Regions from separate parts of the Homo sapiens genome. Here all the other regions are linked to region 5. The links are contacts of gene promoters, found by promoter capture Hi-C in blood cells and fetal thymus (Javierre and others, 2016). All regions are on one chromosome and are shown on one strand. The core of a region is centred on a gene start or on the middle of the fragment in contact, and the rest is flanking DNA. Distances in the headings are between cores, read along the strand shown.

Evidence for each region. The method cuts DNA at HindIII sites, captures the fragments that hold promoters and counts their contacts. A CHiCAGO score of 5 or more calls a contact.
Region 1: a fragment that was not itself captured here is called in contact with the fragment with the promoter of RPL23A in region 5 in 1 of 17 cell types (naive CD4 T cells); the score reaches 5.7 in naive CD4 T cells.
Region 2: a contact is called between a fragment that was not itself captured here and the fragment with the promoter of RPL23A in region 5, in 2 of 17 cell types (endothelial precursors and M2 macrophages). The highest score is 6.6, in endothelial precursors.
Region 3: a contact is called between a fragment that was not itself captured here and the fragment with the promoter of RPL23A in region 5, in 1 of 17 cell types (endothelial precursors). The highest score is 6.0, in endothelial precursors.
Region 4: a contact is called between a fragment that was not itself captured here and the fragment with the promoter of RPL23A in region 5, in 6 of 17 cell types (M0 macrophages, naive CD8 T cells, naive CD4 T cells and 3 more). The highest score is 8.6, in M0 macrophages.
Region 6: a contact is called between a fragment that was not itself captured here and the fragment with the promoter of RPL23A in region 5, in 1 of 17 cell types (fetal thymus). The highest score is 5.0, in fetal thymus.

Annotation. Positions count from the first base shown.
Region 1 is chr17:29,171,467-29,174,166 of GRCh38, reverse strand. All of the region lies in intron 1 of MYO18A (myosin XVIIIA), which reads left to right. Among named protein-coding and RNA genes, the nearest start is that of MYO18A, 7.6 kb to the left of the region's middle. The HindIII fragment of the contact is 5,821 bases long and covers 1-2,700 here.
Region 2 is chr17:29,040,202-29,042,901 of GRCh38, reverse strand. No RefSeq gene overlaps it. Among named protein-coding and RNA genes, the nearest start is that of PIPOX, 1.6 kb to the left of the region's middle. RefSeq lists an enhancer at 1-282. The HindIII fragment of the contact is 825 bases long and covers 934-1,758 here.
Region 3 is chr17:29,083,362-29,086,061 of GRCh38, reverse strand. MYO18A (myosin XVIIIA) reads left to right here. Exons shown (of 42, transcript NM_078471.4): 40 at 414-458. Among named protein-coding and RNA genes, the nearest start is that of PIPOX, 42 kb to the right of the region's middle. The HindIII fragment of the contact is 5,237 bases long and covers 1-2,700 here.
Region 4 is chr17:29,126,731-29,129,430 of GRCh38, reverse strand. The region is part of intron 2 of MYO18A (myosin XVIIIA); the gene reads left to right. Among named protein-coding and RNA genes, the nearest start is that of MYO18A, 52 kb to the left of the region's middle. RefSeq lists an enhancer at 1,419-1,954. The HindIII fragment of the contact is 2,505 bases long and covers 174-2,678 here.
Region 5 is chr17:28,718,702-28,721,401 of GRCh38, reverse strand. It overlaps RPL23A (ribosomal protein L23a), which reads right to left and starts at 1,417. Exons shown (of 5, transcript NM_000984.6): 1 at 1,372-1,417; 2 at 512-695. The coding sequence starts at 1,396. SNORD42B (small nucleolar RNA, C/D box 42B) reads right to left here and starts at 852; the gene lies at 786-852. RefSeq lists enhancers at 703-862, 1,203-1,422, 1,853-1,902, 1,559-2,160, 2,161-2,700. The HindIII fragment of the contact is 1,784 bases long and covers 1-1,592 here.
Region 6 is chr17:29,005,629-29,008,328 of GRCh38, reverse strand. It overlaps SEZ6 (seizure related 6 homolog), which reads left to right and starts at 2,296. Exons shown (of 17, transcript NM_178860.5): 1 at 2,296-2,514. The coding sequence starts at 2,460. The region is part of intron 2 of LOC105371716 (a long non-coding RNA gene); the gene reads right to left. RefSeq lists a silencer at 2,350-2,533. The HindIII fragment of the contact is 934 bases long and covers 839-1,772 here.

The DNA.
Region 1 (2,700 bases), core at 70-2,569, 450 kb before region 5:
TGCTGCAAGGATTAGCCATGTATATTATGTGAATGTACCTATAGATGTCTTATAATGGAATTGCCCAAAGAATATGTACATAAATATTTTCATATGCCAGGTGCAGTGGTGGTGCCTGTAATCCTAGCTACTCAGGAGGCTGAGGCAGGAGGATTGCTTGGGGCCAGGAGTTTGAGACCAGCCTGGACAGAATAGCAAGAACCTGTCTCTAAAACAATTTTTAAAAAGTTAGCCAGTAATGGTGGCGCACACCTGTAGTCACAGCTACTCAGGAGGCTAAGACAGGAGGATCACTTGAGCCCAGGAGTTCAAGTCTGTAGTGATCTATGATTGAGCCACCAAACTCCAGCCTGGGTGACAAAGCAAGACCTTGTCTCTTAAAAAAATTTTTTTTTTTCACAGATACCACTGACTTGACCTCTGAAAATACATTAGTTGGTGCAAAAGTAATTGAGGTTTTTGCCATTAAAAAGTAACGGCAGGCCGGGTGCGGTGGCTCACGCCTGTAATCCCAGCACTTTGGGAGCCGAGGCGGGCGGATCACGAGGTCAGGAGATCGAGACCATCCTGGGTAACATGGTGAAACCCCGTCTCTACTAAAAATACAAAAAATTAGCCAGGCGCGGTGGCGGGCGCCTGTAGTACCAGCTACTCGGGAGGCTGAGGCAGGAGAATGGCGTGAACCCGGGAGGCGGAGCTTGCAGTGAGCAGAGATCGTGCCACTGCACTCTGGCCTGGTGAAAGAGCAAGACTGCGTCTCAAAAAAAAAAAAAAGGGCCGGGCGCAGTGGCTCAAGCCTGTAATCCCAGCACTTTGGAAGGCCGAGGCAGGCAGATCACCTGAGGTCAGGAGTTCAAGACCAGCCTGACCAACATGGAGAAACCCCGTCTCTACTAAAAATACAAAATTAGCCGGTCATGGTGGCGCATGCCTGTAATTCCAGCTACTCAGGAGGCTGAGGCAGGAGAATTGCTTGAACCCGGGAGGCGGATTGCAGTGAGCTGAAATCGGGCCATTGCACTCCAGCCTGGGCAACAAGAGCGAAACTCCGTCTCAAAAAAAAAAAAAGTAACGGCAAAAACCATAATTACTTTTGCACCAACCTACCAATTTGTGTTTCCACCAAGACTTATGAGACTCCCTGCATCCCATGCCCTAATTGATTGATATTATCAACCTTGATAGTTTTTACTAAACTGCTAATTGAAAATAGTATACCTCAATTTCACATGTCTGTGAATGTTATGGAGGCTGAATACCTGTTCATGTTTGATGGCCATTTGTATTTCTGCCCCTACAAATTGCCTGTCCATAGTATCCTTGGCACTAGCTACGTGGGCCCTCTGGACTCAAGCCAGTGTGATCCAGCTTGGCCTTGTGCTTATCAAGTTACCTTCACTTCTTTGGGCTTTACTTTCCATGTACAAAGGTTTTGACTTATTTTAGTCATACTTGTGTACTCTGTTATCCTCTCTACTGTGTCATTTAGACTGCAAAAACTGTGCCCTGCTACTATTAGGTACCTCTCTGAGGGTAATTAAATATATTTCATTTAATTCCCCCACCTTAGGTGGTAGGTACCATTATTATCTCCATTTTTATAGATGGGGAAATGGAGGCATGGAGGCCTTAAGTGATTTGCCTGAGATTTCATAGCTATTTACTCATATTTTTTTTCATTTTTATTTAATTTTTTTTTTTTTAGACAGAGTCTTGTTCTGTCGCCCAGGCTGGAGTGCAGTGGCATGATCTCGGCTCACTGCAACCTCTGCCTCCCAGGTTTCAGCGATTCTCCTGCCTCAGCCTCCTGAGTAGCTGGGATTACAGGCGCATGCCACCATGCCCAGCTATTTTTAGTAGAGACAAGGTTTCACCGTGTTGACCAGGCTGGTTTCGAACACCTGATCTCAGGTGATCTGCCCTCCTCGGCCTTCCAAAGTGCTAGGATTACAGGCGTGAGCCATTGCGCCCGGCCCTGTTTACTCAGATTTGTTCACAGGTTTGTTACTTGATATCCAAAGCCTGAGCTCTGACACTGGGCTTACTTATCTTTATGTTGCTTGCCTTTAGGAAGTGGCTGATAGATACATATTTTTTCCCAAAATTTTATCACAATGACCTGCAAACATTCAGAAAAGTTAAAGAATTTTGCAACGAATACCCTCCATTTCCTAGATTCTACAATTAACATTTTCCTATCCTTGCTTTTACACATCTGTATCCCTTGATCCATCCATCAGGCTATGGTTTTTTTTTTTTTTCTTTCTTTCTTTTGAGACAGGGTCTTACTCTGTTACCCAGGCTGGAATGCAATGGCATGATCGTGGCTCAATGTAGCCTCGACCTCCCAGGCTCAGGTGATCTTCCCACTTTAGCCTCCCAAGTAGCTCCCACAGGCATGCACCACCACATCCAGATAATTTTTTGTATTTTGAGTAGAGACAGGGCTTTGCCATGTTGCCCAGGCTTGTCTCCGACTCCTGAGCTCAAGCGATCTGCCCGTCTCGGCCTCCCAAAGTGTTGGGATTATAGATGTGAGCCACCTTGCCCAACCTCATCAAGCTGTCTTAAAATTTTACACATCTCAAAGTAAAACGTAGACATCAGTATATTTCGCCCCAAATACTTTAACATACATATCATTCACTAGAGTTCAATATTTGTTTATAGTTCTTTTCTTTTGAGTGGATATTTACAAAC
Region 2 (2,700 bases), core at 97-2,596, 320 kb before region 5:
TCATTATGATCTTTGTCTCAGGACTTCGGCCCTGGAATTTCAATGCCTCCTAGACCATACTGGGCACCGGGAATGCTGCCTCCCCCTGCTGGTTTTCCCCTCTTCAGCCTGATTTGCTTTAGAGATTCTAGAGGGCCCCGCTAAGAACTTGGCACGATGCCCAGAATAAGACCCACCTCCCTGGTGGGTGGTGAGGTCAGGGGGTAGAGGCAGGGGCCAATTGGGAGGGCAGTTTTGTAATTATGAAATTATTCCCAGCATGTTTTACTTTCATTTTGAAGAAAGAAGAAATGATCCTGAAAAGACAGAAAGGGCAGAGTGAGAGGAGGAGCCCTCTCCTCAGCCACAGAGAGGGGACCAGGCCAGCCCAGTGCCTGGAGGGGCCCCGTGTTGAGCATCTCTCTGTCCCAGGCAGTATGCTTAGTAAGTACTGATACTGGCATTTGGGTAGGGCTTGATTGTCATACAGTTCGAGGGTACTCTTTGAGAAAAAGAAAAAAGGAGAATTATTAATACAAAATTAGATGCCCGGATGTGGAAGAAACTGTTCAATTAAGGACCCCCATGGTTGAAGTTTCATTTGCTTCATGGTAAATTTGCCTCTGCATGAGTTATCTCATTTACTCCTCATAGCCCTAGGAGTTTCTGCGGGTTTTTGTTTTTGAAGTTTTGGTTTTTGAGAGGATCTCTGGGATCTCACTGTCACGCAGGCTGGAGTGCAGTGGCACGAACTCGGCTCACTGTAGCCTCCACTTCCTGGGCTCAAGGGGTCCTCCTACCTCAGCCGCCCGAGTAGCTGAAACTACAAACGCATGCCACCATGCTCAGCTAATTTTGTTTATTTTTTGTAGAGACGAGGGCTCACTGTGTTGCTCAGGCTGGTCTCGAACTCCTGGACTCATACAATCCTCCCACCTCATCCTCCCAAAAGCTTGGATTACAGGTGTGAGACACTGCACCTGGCTTAGGAGTATTTTTATGCCTACTTTTGGCAGATTAAGGATGGCCCCAAATTCTTTTTCACTCCTTCTATCACAGACTCTGTGACTGCTTGACCCATAAAATATGGCAAAAGTGATACCATGACACTTTCTGGCACAGCCCTAAAGAGACTGGCAGCTTCCTCTTCTTATGTTGGAGCCCTTACTTTTTTTTTTTTTTTGAGAGGGAGTCTCGTTTTGTCATCCAGGCAGGAGAGCAGTGGCACTATCTTGGCTCACTGCAACCTCTGACTCGTGGGTTCAAGCGATTCTTCTGCCTCAGCTTCCCGAGTAGCTGGGCCTACAGGCGAGCGCCACTACACCCAGCTAATTTTTCATATTTTTAGTAGAGACGGGGTTTCACCATATTGGCCAGGCTGGTCTCGAACTCCTGACCTCATGATCCGACCACCTCGGCCTCCCAAAGTGCTGGGGTTACAGGCATGAGCCACCGCACCTGGCCAAGGAGCCCTTACTCTCTGAGCCCTGAGCCACCATGTTAGAAGTGCAGGCACCCTATGGGAGAGTTCACATGGAGAGGACCTGGGACCAGGTGGAGAACTCTATATAAGAATGAAGTTATCTTGGTTTGGGAGGCTGAGTCAGGAAGGATCGCTTGAGGCCAGGAGTTCCAGACAAACCTGTGCAACATAGCAAGACCTTGTCTCAAAGAAAAGTGAAGTCATCTTGGTTCCTCCAGCCCAGCCTAGCACCAGCCAAATAGTACCAAGTGACCCAATTGATGCTGCATAGTGCAGAAGAATCACCCAGTCAAGCTTCATTCCTGATCCACAAAACCATGAAACAGAATAAAATGGTTGTTGTTTTCAGCCACAACATTTTGGGGAGGTTTTTTACACAGCCATAACCAAAATATTACTTAATGGCTGAAGACGTGAAGGCTTAGAGAGATTCTATCTTACCCAAAGCAACACCCCTGGTATACAAAGACACTGAGGCTGGGCACAGTGGCTCACGTCTGTAATCCCAACACTTTGAGAGGCCGAGGCGGGAGAATCACTTGAGGCCAGAAGTTTGAGACCAGTCTGGGCAACATAGCAAGACCGCATCTCTACAAAAAATGTTAAAAATTAGCCAGGGATGGTGGTGCATGCCTGTAGTCTTACTTACTTGGGAGGCTGAGGCAGGAGGGTCACTTGAGCCCAGGAGTTTGAGGCTGCAGTGAGCTATAATCACACCATTGTACTCCAGCCTGGGCAATGGAGCAAGATTCCAGCTCTATGGAAAAAAAAAAAAAAAAAAGAAAGAAAGAAAAGAAAGACACTGAACTGTGAACCTAGGTCTGTCTGCCCCAGAATCCGTTCCTTTAACCACTGTGCTTTACTGAGGATGAGTCAGAACTTGTAATGATGATTCCGATTTCAATATTTTGCTATTTCTCCCACAATGAGTGGGAGAAAATAATGGTCCAGGAAACCCACATGACTACAGGGAGCTGCCCTGCCTCCTTACAGTGGCCTGCCAAGGCCGCCAGCAATGCTTCTCATTCCACAAGTAATCCCCCAGACTGATCTTGGCAACTGGCTGTCCTCTCAGCCTAGCCCTTTTGTTCTTAGGAAAACAGGAGCCCAGAGAGGAGGTGCCATCGGACTGGATTTTTCTTTATCTTTTTTTTTTTTTTCCTGTTACAGGATTTCAGTCTGTCACCCAGGCTGGAGTGCAGTGGTGTGATCATAGCTCACTGCAGTCTCAAATTCCC
Region 3 (2,700 bases), core at 166-2,665, 360 kb before region 5:
GGGGAATGGTTTGGAGAGAAAGAGATTTGTAGTCTTAGGCTGAGGAGACAGTCACGAGGAAGGAAGGCCAGCAGTGCGGGGTAGCACCAGGCCATGGAGAAGCTCCCAGGGCTGCCCTAGGTGGACCCTAGATCTGCCCCCTTCCCACCTTAGGGCTGGGGCCCATCCTGCAGGCAGGTCTGGGGCAGCGCAGGGACCCTGCTGCTTTGGGGCAGGGGAGAGGTGCCAGGGGCAGCCCGCATCAGATTTTGAGGACAGTGCCATCACGCATCCCACTACCTGGTCTCAACCAGCCAGAGCTGGCTCTTGCTGAGGGAAGAGAGGTCTTCAGCTAAGGGGTCCACCTTGGGTTGCCGATTGATTTCATCTGTTTCCTCTGGACCCCTTGCCCACCATTTTCCTTCTATTTCCAGTTTGCAGGACATGGTGACAAAGTATCAGAAAAGAAAGAATAAACTGTGAGGACTGGAGCGCATGTGCTCTCTGCCTGTCCTCGCGGGTGTCTAACCACCCCTAACACTGGCTCCCACCCTGGGGCCGCTGCACGCAGCATGTGGATACAGCCTCCCCACACTCCCGCCTCACTGGTCTCTAACGCTAACATGCTGACTCTATCCTCGGGGGAGGCAGGGAGCGGGCAATGAGGTGTGCTCCCCAGAAGGCTGGGGCTGGCCCGTGCACCCTTGGTGGGCAGGATGGGGGGGCTCCTGCCGAAAGGAAAGCGCAGCCTATTTGAGAAGTTTACCTTCCTGAGCTCCAGCACATTCCTCCCTCAAAAACCAAGTGTGGCCACCTCCCTGGCCTATTTCTCTGGGGGGAAAAGTCTGTTTGGGCTGGATCTGTCCACATCCTTGGGCTCCTTGGGAGCCTGAGCTGCCTGAAAGAAGCGGGCGTGTTTCATCTTTAAAGGTCCACTACCTTCTCTTGGCAGACAAGGGTAGAAGGTGAGGGGCATCTCCCAGTTTCTTGTTTGGAGAAAGCATTCAGGCAGCTAATCATGGGCTGCTTGCCGTGGCGGGGGAAGGGAACACAGCCAGATGTGTTTACTTTACTCCCTGCGGTACCGTGGGCAGAGGGAGGCCCCAGCGGGCGCTTGTGCTGGTACTGTCAGGTGGCAGGAAGCCCAGGAAATCCAGCCCTCTCTTTTCCCGCTTTCTGGGTGGGAGCTGGACAGCGGATGCAGATGCGCAGGCCTTCAGGCAGAGCGGGCTGATCCTCCATCAAGTTCGACAGGGTTGTTTTTTAGAGGTCTTTTTTTTTTAGCATGGCATTGGGTTTCTTCCCCCACTCTCTCTCGCCTGATGGACCCCCTCCCCTGGCCAGGATGGGCTGGTGGCAGCGCACAGGACTCAGTGAGAGCTAATGATAAATGTAATAGTGTGTAACAGTGATAGAGGGCCGCTGGAGCCTGGTTGTCACACACAATTAATATCCCCCGCCGTTCTGTCTCCGTTTGTTTGTTCCCCCGTGATTCGGCTCCCCGTTAACTAATAGCACATGAGCCCGGACATAAATTGTATTTGACGTGAGGTTTAATTCCAACCATTTAAAATTTCAACTGCCCTCTGAGCCTGCCTGCCCCTGGAGTTTGTTTACGGGCCTGATTATTTAAGGAAAAGAACATCTTCTAGATGCTTGCAACTAAAGGGAAGGCGAGGGCAGGCAGGCCAGCTTTGCAACCCATCCACTGTTCTGTATGTAAGGAGGAAAATTCATATTCTGGGCCCACAACTGTCTGTCCCCTGTGTGTTTCAACCCTGCCATCCTTGTGTGGCAAGAGCTTCAAGGGCTGATAAAATGCGCATTTAAGATCATATTCTAAACCACTGCCAGGCATGCACACACACAGGTACACCACGCATGCACACACACTCACACACACTGGTGTGTGCTCACATAGACGCATGGGGACGTGCAGCTCTAACCAGGTTCCGGCTGATGGCAGAGAGGTGGTGTGGCTCCTTCCTCAGCAGCTCTGGGCCCCAGCTCCAAGTTATTGAGCCCAGCGCAGTAAGGCAGGCAGAGAAATAATGTTTCGATTTACTTAGAGATACAGTTGTTATTGCCATAACCTTAATGAAAGCAGTAAACAGCACGGTATTAAGGGAGATTTATATGGAAACGCTTTTAACATGTAGACATAGATTTTGCGATGCATACAGCACCTCCTTTCTAAAGGCAATCAATATGGTTATGAACGGTGGTGATAAATTACAGGCTCTGAAGCTAGAGAGGGAGGTTTTTTGCACAGGTGTATAAATCAGGTGGTATTGGTGTTCCATGGGGCCCATGCACCACAGTAAATCTGCCAGGCTCGGACGGGCACAGGGCTTGCATTAGCAGTTTCGAGGTTGTCTGCTAAACTCCTGTTTACCCGGGGCATCAGCCAGCCTCGTCTTTGTTATAATTCTGTATTTGATGGAAGCCCATAAAACATGCCTCTTTATTCCCCTCTCTATGAGTTGGGCTCTCGCATGGTCCCCAGAACAATCTGCTGGTTTCGTGTGTGTGTGTGTGTGTGTGTGTGTGCGCGCGCGCGCACACATGCCTGTGTGGCTGTTTATTTAAGAACATAATTCAGGAATGGAGCCATTCCTCTTGACACAGAGGAAAGGAAATTTATATCGAGGAGAAACCCTAGCCTATCCATAGCAGGGCAACTTGGTGAGCAGACATTCTGCAGAATTTTAGAAGCAATCT
Region 4 (2,700 bases), core at 177-2,676, 410 kb before region 5:
GGGAAGGGTGGGCACACCAGCTAGAGTATACCAGTCCACTCCAGGGAAGATTGGAGCTGAGGCTGCTTGAGGGCTATACACACTCTGGGAACTAGGGGGTCTCCAAACCCTTGAGAGGTTTGCAGGAGGAAAACTGCAAGGAGACTGGCAGAAAGCAGGCTGAAGTGGAAGCTTCCTGGCCCGTGCTGGGCTCCTCAGTGCTTGAGAACATAGATGAAGGGCAGACAGTGGCCGCAGACGAGGGACGCTGTGAGGAGGAGGCCTGGCATGTCTTGGGGCCAGGAAGAGCTCCCTGATCATTTTTTCCTTCAGGATGGGTAGGCTCTTGGTCTGACTGCCCGGAAAACAGGTGATGGAAGGACCAAGGACTACAAAGGTCAGGACGCCCTGGAGTTAGGCCTGGGATTGGTGGTAGGAATGGAGGTGGGACTCGGCTGTTTGACCTCTCCATGCTCCATCTCTGCTGTGTCCATGCTCCATCTCTGCTGTGTCTGGGCTGCGAGGCAGTGGGCTCACCTAGAATGGGACTTGGTTGCTGCCCTGACACAAAGCCAGTAACCCCAGAGCACCTCATAGGCCTCTCGGCGCTCTGTGCCGGCATCTCACAGGTCCATGCTAAGTCTGGGGATAGACAGCAGGTGACAGTAGTACCTGATTGTGCTGATTGTGCTTTGTGGGAAAGAAGCCAGACTCTTAGCTGCAGTTGTCCTATTTGTAAGATGGAAAGTGGGCTTCCTGGGGTAGCCTCGTGGAGCCATGTGTTGCTTGGTAGATGAATGGGAGATCTGTTCCAGGGCGTGAGGTCACACCTTCTTATTCCCTCTGCATGGGATGGGCAGGGCTGCAGGGGTGATGCTAATGTCTACCTGTATTTGTATGACTGTAGCTAGAGGGCAGCTCAAAGGAAGGCAGTGGCCCATCTAGGAGTCCTCAGCCTCCCACCAGCCCGATACCCCCAGAGACTTCCCAGAGAGCCAGGAGCCCTGCACCCACACTCGCCATGAACGGCCCGGGAGCTGCCACAGCAGAAGGCCTAAGCGAAGAGGCCCAGGGCCTGTCCCGGAAGCGGGTGGCAAATGCAGTGAGGAAGGTGGTGAGTAAGGTGCTGCCCAGCGAGGAGCTTGGGAATGCCAAGGAGACCCCAGGCAGAGGAGTCAAGTCCCCCGAGCACCCGACTCGAAGCAAGAGGGGAGAAAAGGCAGCTTCTAGTCCCAAGCCGCCACCCCCTCCCCCACCTCCCCCTGCTCCGCCTAAGCCTGAAGTGAAGAAGGAGGCAGCCAAGGATGAGCTCTCCCTGGGCCTGCGGAGCCTGATGTCTCGGGGCAGGGGCAAGGAGCACAAGGCCCGCGGCAAGCAGTCTTCTGGGAAGGGGGAGAAGCCCTCCAGCCAGGAGCCAGGCTCCCCAGACTGGGCAGACTCCCCTGAGAAAGCAGGATCCCCAGCCAAGCCTGAAGCCCCAAAGAAGCAGCGCTCCCCAGCCCCACCGGAAGAGCTGGTGACCCCAGGCTCCACCGGCCCGAAGTCAGACCTCACTGGAGAGCAGCAGTCCAAGTCACCAGTCCCTGGTGTGAAGCAGGAGGTACAAGAGTGTGTCACTAACCGCTCCTGCCCCTCACCACCCTAGCTCAAGGGCCAGGCACCCTCACAGCCGGCTTCCCCAAGCGACCTCAGCGAACCCCGCATGACCGAGAGGCTGGGCCCAGGGTCGTGTGCTGATGGCCGGCAGGGGCTGCATGGCTTTCCCTAACCCAATGCGGACCCTGCAGTTGCCTGGGCTCTGGCCTGGCGGCTGGGATGGAAACTGCTAAGCAGCATGTTGGCCTTGCCATAGGGAGTCAGGGCCTGGTCCCCAGCTACATGGCGCCAGCTTGAGGCCTGAGACCCAAACCCGAGGATCAGAGTCTCAGCAGATCAGTTCCAGGAGGAAAGACTGTTTTCTCAAGTCAGGGATCTGGGCTTGCATTCCCAGCCACTCATCCCCTGGGACCTCAGCAAAGTCCCATCTCAGACTTCCTCTGTTGAGTGGGGATAATACAGGTCCAAAATTTCTTCTCTGATACCCTGGGTGTGGCAGTATTTTGGAAATTAGTAATCTTTGTATTTTAGTGCCATACAGTATACATAATGAGCAACAACGTGTAACAAACATTAATATTTCCAAAGCAAAATCTATGAATATTCACACTACAGGGGCATAGAGGATAAACTGCCAGGTTTTGCCGCCAAAATAGTTAAGAAAAATATTTTGTTTGGGGGGGCTTTTGGGATTTTGGAATTGCAAATAAGGGTTAATAAGGGTTTTAAGTAACCAGAAGATTAGAAATGATACAGATAATGCTCCAAGCCGGTCCCTGGCATGGTGGGTGCTCCATAAATGGTAGCGTTGATAGTGGTGCTAATAACAGTTGTTATTGATGCCCTCACTGCCATCACTGCCTTCTTTAGGCCTGGCCAGCATGACCATCTGGCAGCAGGACTCTTGAGGAGCCCTGTGCTTGGATGGCAGATGGGTACAGTGGGCCCCTTGGGATATAGGGGCAACCCTATCTTCCCAGAAAGTGTTCTCTGGGTGGGGCAGGAGGCTGAGAAGCAGGAGGGAGGGTCAGTCCAGCCTCTTTCCCTTGGAAAGTGTTGCCTTCTTGGCTGGCCTCTGAGTTGGGGACAGTTCTCTTCAAGCTTCCCTTTTTTGGACCCTGCTGA
Region 5 (2,700 bases), core at 168-2,667:
ATAATTAACCTAACAAATTTTGAGAGACTCAGGGTTTTTTTTTTTTTGAGACAGAGTTTCACTCTTATTGCCCAGGCTGGAATGCAATGGTACGATCTCCGCTCACCGCAACCTCCACCTCCCGGGTTCAAGCGATTCTCCTGCCTCAGCCTCCCGCGAGTAGCTGGGATTACAGACATGCGCCACCATGCCCGGCGAATTTTCTATTTTTAATAGACGCGGGGTTTCTCCATGTCACTCAGGCTGGTCTCGAACCCCTGACCTCAAGTGATCCGCCCCCCCTCGGCCTCCCAAAGTGCTGGGATTACAGACGTGAGCCACCGCGCCCGGCCTCTGGGCTGATCCTGCCAGTTTTGTAAATGCAGCAGAAACAATCTCCTCATACTTCCAATTAGAGAAGCACACTGGACACAATTTGCGTTTGAGAAACCATCACGCAGAGTGAGTGAATTTCCAAATTACCAATGGAGAATACCCAAATCTTTTCATGGGTACAGGGGGCAGTACTGACTTGTTTCTCCTGGGAGCGCTCTTCCGAGGATATTTGGGCTGTCTCCGGAGTCGCAGTGTCTTCGGCCGCCGGAAGGTGGGTGACGTGCGGATCTTCTTCTTTTTGTGGCTGTGGACACCTTTCAACACTGCCTTCTTGGCCTTTAAAGCCTTCGCTTTGGCTTCAGCTTTAGGAGGGGCAGGAGCTGGGAGAAAAGGAAAGAAAACGTGGGTGCGGGATTTAGAAATCGGTCACTTCCGGCCCCAAGAACTGCAGTGGGCCACCCTGGCCACAGGTGCATCAGTGGTTCCTTTGAAGACATCACAAGTGTCAGGAGATTAAAACTTTTCCATCATATGCACGATACCAGAGGCGAAAGCGACCAACTCTAAGTAACTCCAGGGATACGACTATGAAACAAAGTAGCACTGAATGAACGCTTGATACTTTCCAGAAAATGTCCTACGAATTTTACACATACCCCATCGCAAAACCACGCTGCGGAGAGAGGGGCGGGTAATGTAGCCCGGTTGAACATGAACCAGAAGGAAAATGGTTAAAGCTGAGGGCACTAATTCCTTACAGGCCCGGGGACATGGAGCTCCAACCAGTGGATGCATGTAGCTTCCCAGAACCGAATGTCTGGCCCTCCCTGGCGGATGATGCCTGCCGCGTTGCCCCCCCCCAACTCCCTCTACCGGAACTCAGCCCACGAGGCTGGGCCCACGCGGCCCACGTATACTGCAGCGTGTCCGAAACGCAGGGAGCAGCCCCGGAGCAGAGCCCTCAGGGCTTAGCCCAGCAGCCGTGTTCCCAATTCGTTCGCTCTGCGGCGCGGCAATCCCCGGTAAACCAGCTGCGGCCCCATCACCAACACACACCTTCCTTCTTCGCTTTCGGCGCCATCTTGTGAAAAGGGTCTCCAATGCTCGTTCCCACGGGCTTATAGCGCCAAAGAGCACTAAAGACTCGCGATGCTTTGTACTTAGAGCTGATTGGGTAATTTGCAGAGCGGCGCCCTCTGGGAACGGTAGTTAGGTTTAATTTCTTTTTCGTGCGTGAACAAACATGCGCCACTCCTCCCCTCAAAGGCACTAAAGCTTCATGGGGGTTGTAGTTTTTTGTTTTTTGTTTTTTGTTTTTTTTTTGAGCGCTCTGTCGCCCAGGCTGGAGTGCAGTGGCGCGATCTCGGCTCACTGTAAGCTCCGCCTCCCGGGTTTACGCCATTCTCCTGCCTCAGCCACCAGAGTAGCTGGGACTACAGGCGCGTGCCACCATGGGGATTGTAGTTTTTTGAAGACACGCGTTTATTTGCTCAGGCCAGCGGACGGCGTAGCCGGCTGGCGCTCGGGTCTGGTCCCGGGAGCTTCCTATCTTGAGCAACTGCCAGTCTCAGGGAAGAGGATTGCCATGCCAGGAGGCAGGAACGCTGCCAAGAGGAAAGAACACATTTGGATTGACTCGGGAGTTAGATACAGCTAAGTTCTAGAGTGCTGGAGCAGGATTTGCTCGGTCGAACTGAGGTCCAGAGAGGAATGTGGTTTATCAATAACACAGTGATTTGGTGGCAGAAAAAAATCAAGTCAGGGCCGGGCGCGGTGACTCACGCCTGTAATCCCAGCACTTTGTGAGGCCGAGGTGGACGAATTGCTTCGAGCCCAGGAGTTCGAGACCACCCTGGGCAACACGGCGAAACCCTGTCTCTACAAAAGAATACAAAAATTAGCCGGGCGTGGTGGTGCGTGCCTGTAGTCCCAGTTCCTTGGGAGGCTGAGGTGGGAGGATCGCTTCAGCCCTGGAGGTCGAGGCTGCAATGAGCCATTCCAGCCTGGGTGGCAGAGTGAGACCCTGTCTCAAAATAAATAAATAAATAAATAAATAAATAATCGAGTCACGAGGGGGAAGTGTCAGAGGAAGTACAAGGCGGCCACACCTGCCCCTCTTTACCTGCGACACTGATACTGTCAAGTTTTACTGCGTTTCCTGATAATGCATTTGAAGTTCTATGAAAATTCCACACATTTCTCCAAGATTCGCTAGTTTTTCCGGTTAGTAACTTCACTCACAATCCCCTGCCCTAAACTAGTCTTCCCTTCCGTGTCCTGGTCATCTTTACATCCTCAAATTCAGCTCCAGACACAGAGAAAGGTTTCTTAACACTCAGGTTCGCTTCTCCTAAGGTGTGTGCCTAACCCATCCCCACTTGATCC
Region 6 (2,700 bases), core at 56-2,555, 290 kb before region 5:
TGCATTGTCATGCCCATCATGCAGTACAAGCCCATCTTCTGAGCTCAGGGTACAGTACTGTATTCTGGGACTTGTAGTCTCCATTGGACCCTCTAGGTTAGTTCAGGCCATAGGGAAGGTGATGTGACAAGTTCCAGGATGGCTTCTCTCCCCCTCCTTTATGTGCATAGTGCCCAGCCCATCAAGGAGCCCTGTTGCTAAGAGAGTCAGACAAGCCTGCCACCAACCTCCAAATCCCCATGAATCATCCTGGCAATACAAGATTCATCCCTAGGTCATGACTCACTCCCCTTGCCCAAGCTGCCTAGCCATGAGGGACCAGGAATACTAGAGGAGCCCAGGAATACTTTCAAGGAGGAAAAGAGGAATCTCATGACATTTGCCAGCATTTTCCTAAACTTCCCCCGGTCACACAACCTTCTACCTCTGTGTCTCTTCCCTTCCTCTGTTGGCAACTCTCTTTCTGCCTCCCCTCTTGCACCTTCTTTCCTGGCTTCCTCTCCTCACCCCTGATTCTTGCATCAGCTCCTCCTTCTTCCTGCCATCCTTCTGCTGCTGCCCTCTTTTTCCTCAGCTTCTCAAAACAACTGTCCAGAAATCCCAGCGTCTTCCTAATTCCACACGCCATCTGCCTGCTGCCTGGGACTCTTTACAGCAGTCATCACAGCTCCCCAGAGCCCACAAGAAGAGGGTCTGGAGAGAATCCAACCAGCAGAGTTGGGAGACTCTGGTCAAGAGGACCAAAACACTCTCTAAGGAACTTGAGCAGAAATTTCACCACCTGCTTCCAGGATGAGGGTCAGGAAGGACACTGGACAATGACTGGAGTCTGGAAGCTTTGGAGAGCAACCAAGTTCATGTAAAAAGAAACTAAACAAAAAACTGCCCTTCTCCCAGGGGCAATAGGGAGTTCAGCCCTCCTATTCCTCTACAGGGAATAATAACATCAGCCATAGGATCCTGTCCCATTGTACCCATTAAAGCTCTTCAAGTGAGCCCATCCATGAGCCCCTGCCTTTAAAGAGCAGCCTCAGGATGGCACAGCTGTGACTGCCCCCTTGCTGTCCTGTGACTCACTGGGGCTCCTCAGCCCAAGCAGGGCCCTGGAAAGTTATTTTTCCATGCCTTTAATAGTACAGGCTACACCCCTGGGCCTCCTTCAAGTCTCTATCTAAAACAGCCGTAGGGCACAGTGGCTCATGCCTGTAATCCCAGCACTTTGGGAGGCCAAGGCGGGAGGATCTCTTGAGGCCAGGATTTCAAGACCAGTTTGGGCAACATAATGAGACCTTATCTCTGCAAAAAATTTAAAAATTAGCCAGGCTTGGGGGTGCATGCCTGTAGTTCTAGCTACTTGAGAGGCTGAAGTGGGAGGATCTCTTGAGCCCAGGAGTTTGGGTGAGCTATTAATATAATTGTGCCACTGCATTTCCAGCCTAAGCAACAGAGACCCTGTCTCTAAAAACAATAATAAAATAAAATAAAATAACAGCTCTAGGAAACCCTCTCTCATGCCTATGCCATTTTCTCCACCAATTCCAGAAACCTGGGCAGAGATGGCATGAAGGGTCTGTATCGACTGTCACTGTGGCTTCTCTGGTCCTGCAGAGGGGCCAAGGCAGAGTCCTGGAGACCCAGGGCTACGTGGGGACCCAGGATACTACCTTCAGCTGCCCACAGCTTGGCCCAGGTTGCCTCCTGCCAAGTGAAGAATGTCTCCCCAGGATGCGAGTGCCACTGGCTTTTAACTATAATATCAGGATAATTAAGCTTTTCTGTGAGCACAGTTTGCTGCTGATGCAGCTGCCTGGAGCCCTGGCATTTATTGAGCGCAAAGTAATAATTTATTATCCTTTGTACGCTCAAAAGCCATCTTCATTATCGTCCCAAGACGGAACTGCCACAAGGGCACGCGGGCCTCACCAGCTGCCTCACTCTCGGATGTCTTCCCAGGTCACCCTTGACGCCCTCAGGTACCAGGATTGGGTGGAGAGGGGTGGGGAAAGTGTTGCTCTTTCTCATGGAGAATCAGAAGGCTACAGTGAGCTATTAATTGAGGTTCCTTAGCAGGCCGTTAACGGGAAAGAGGGTGGCATGCTTGGCTGGGGGTGGGCAGCGCAGAAGGGCAGGGGCCGTGTGCCCACATGAGTAGGGCAGTCGCGGTGGAGCGGGAGCCTGGGCTCCTGCCCCTGGGTCTCTGCGCCTTTGCATGAGACTTTACGGTAAGCCGCTCCTCCCGCGCCCCCGCCCCCAGCCCCGCTCGGCGATCCCCGGCGCCGTCGCCAGGCGCTGGCCGTGGTGCTGATTCTGTCAGGCGCTGGCGGCGGCAGCGGCGGTGACGGCTGCGGCCCCGCTCCCTCTACCCGGCCGGACCCGGCTCTGCCCCCGCGCCCAAGCCCCACCAAGCCCCCCGCCCTCCCGCCGCGGTCCCAGCCCAGGGCGCGGCCGCAACCAGCACCATGCGCCCGGTAGCCCTGCTGCTCCTGCCCTCGCTGCTGGCGCTCCTGGCTCACGGTAAGGGACCCCGGCATCCGGCGGCAGGACGGGGGCGGGAGCGGGGCCCCAGGGGTGGGAAGGGAGACCCGGTGCCCAGCTTCGGGCATCTGGCTGCCCAGTCCAAGCACCGCGCCCCGCCGGCTGCGCTGCCCCCGGCGCCGGCCAAGCCGGGCGGGGCGCGGGCTTCGCGGGCGGGAAGCTGCC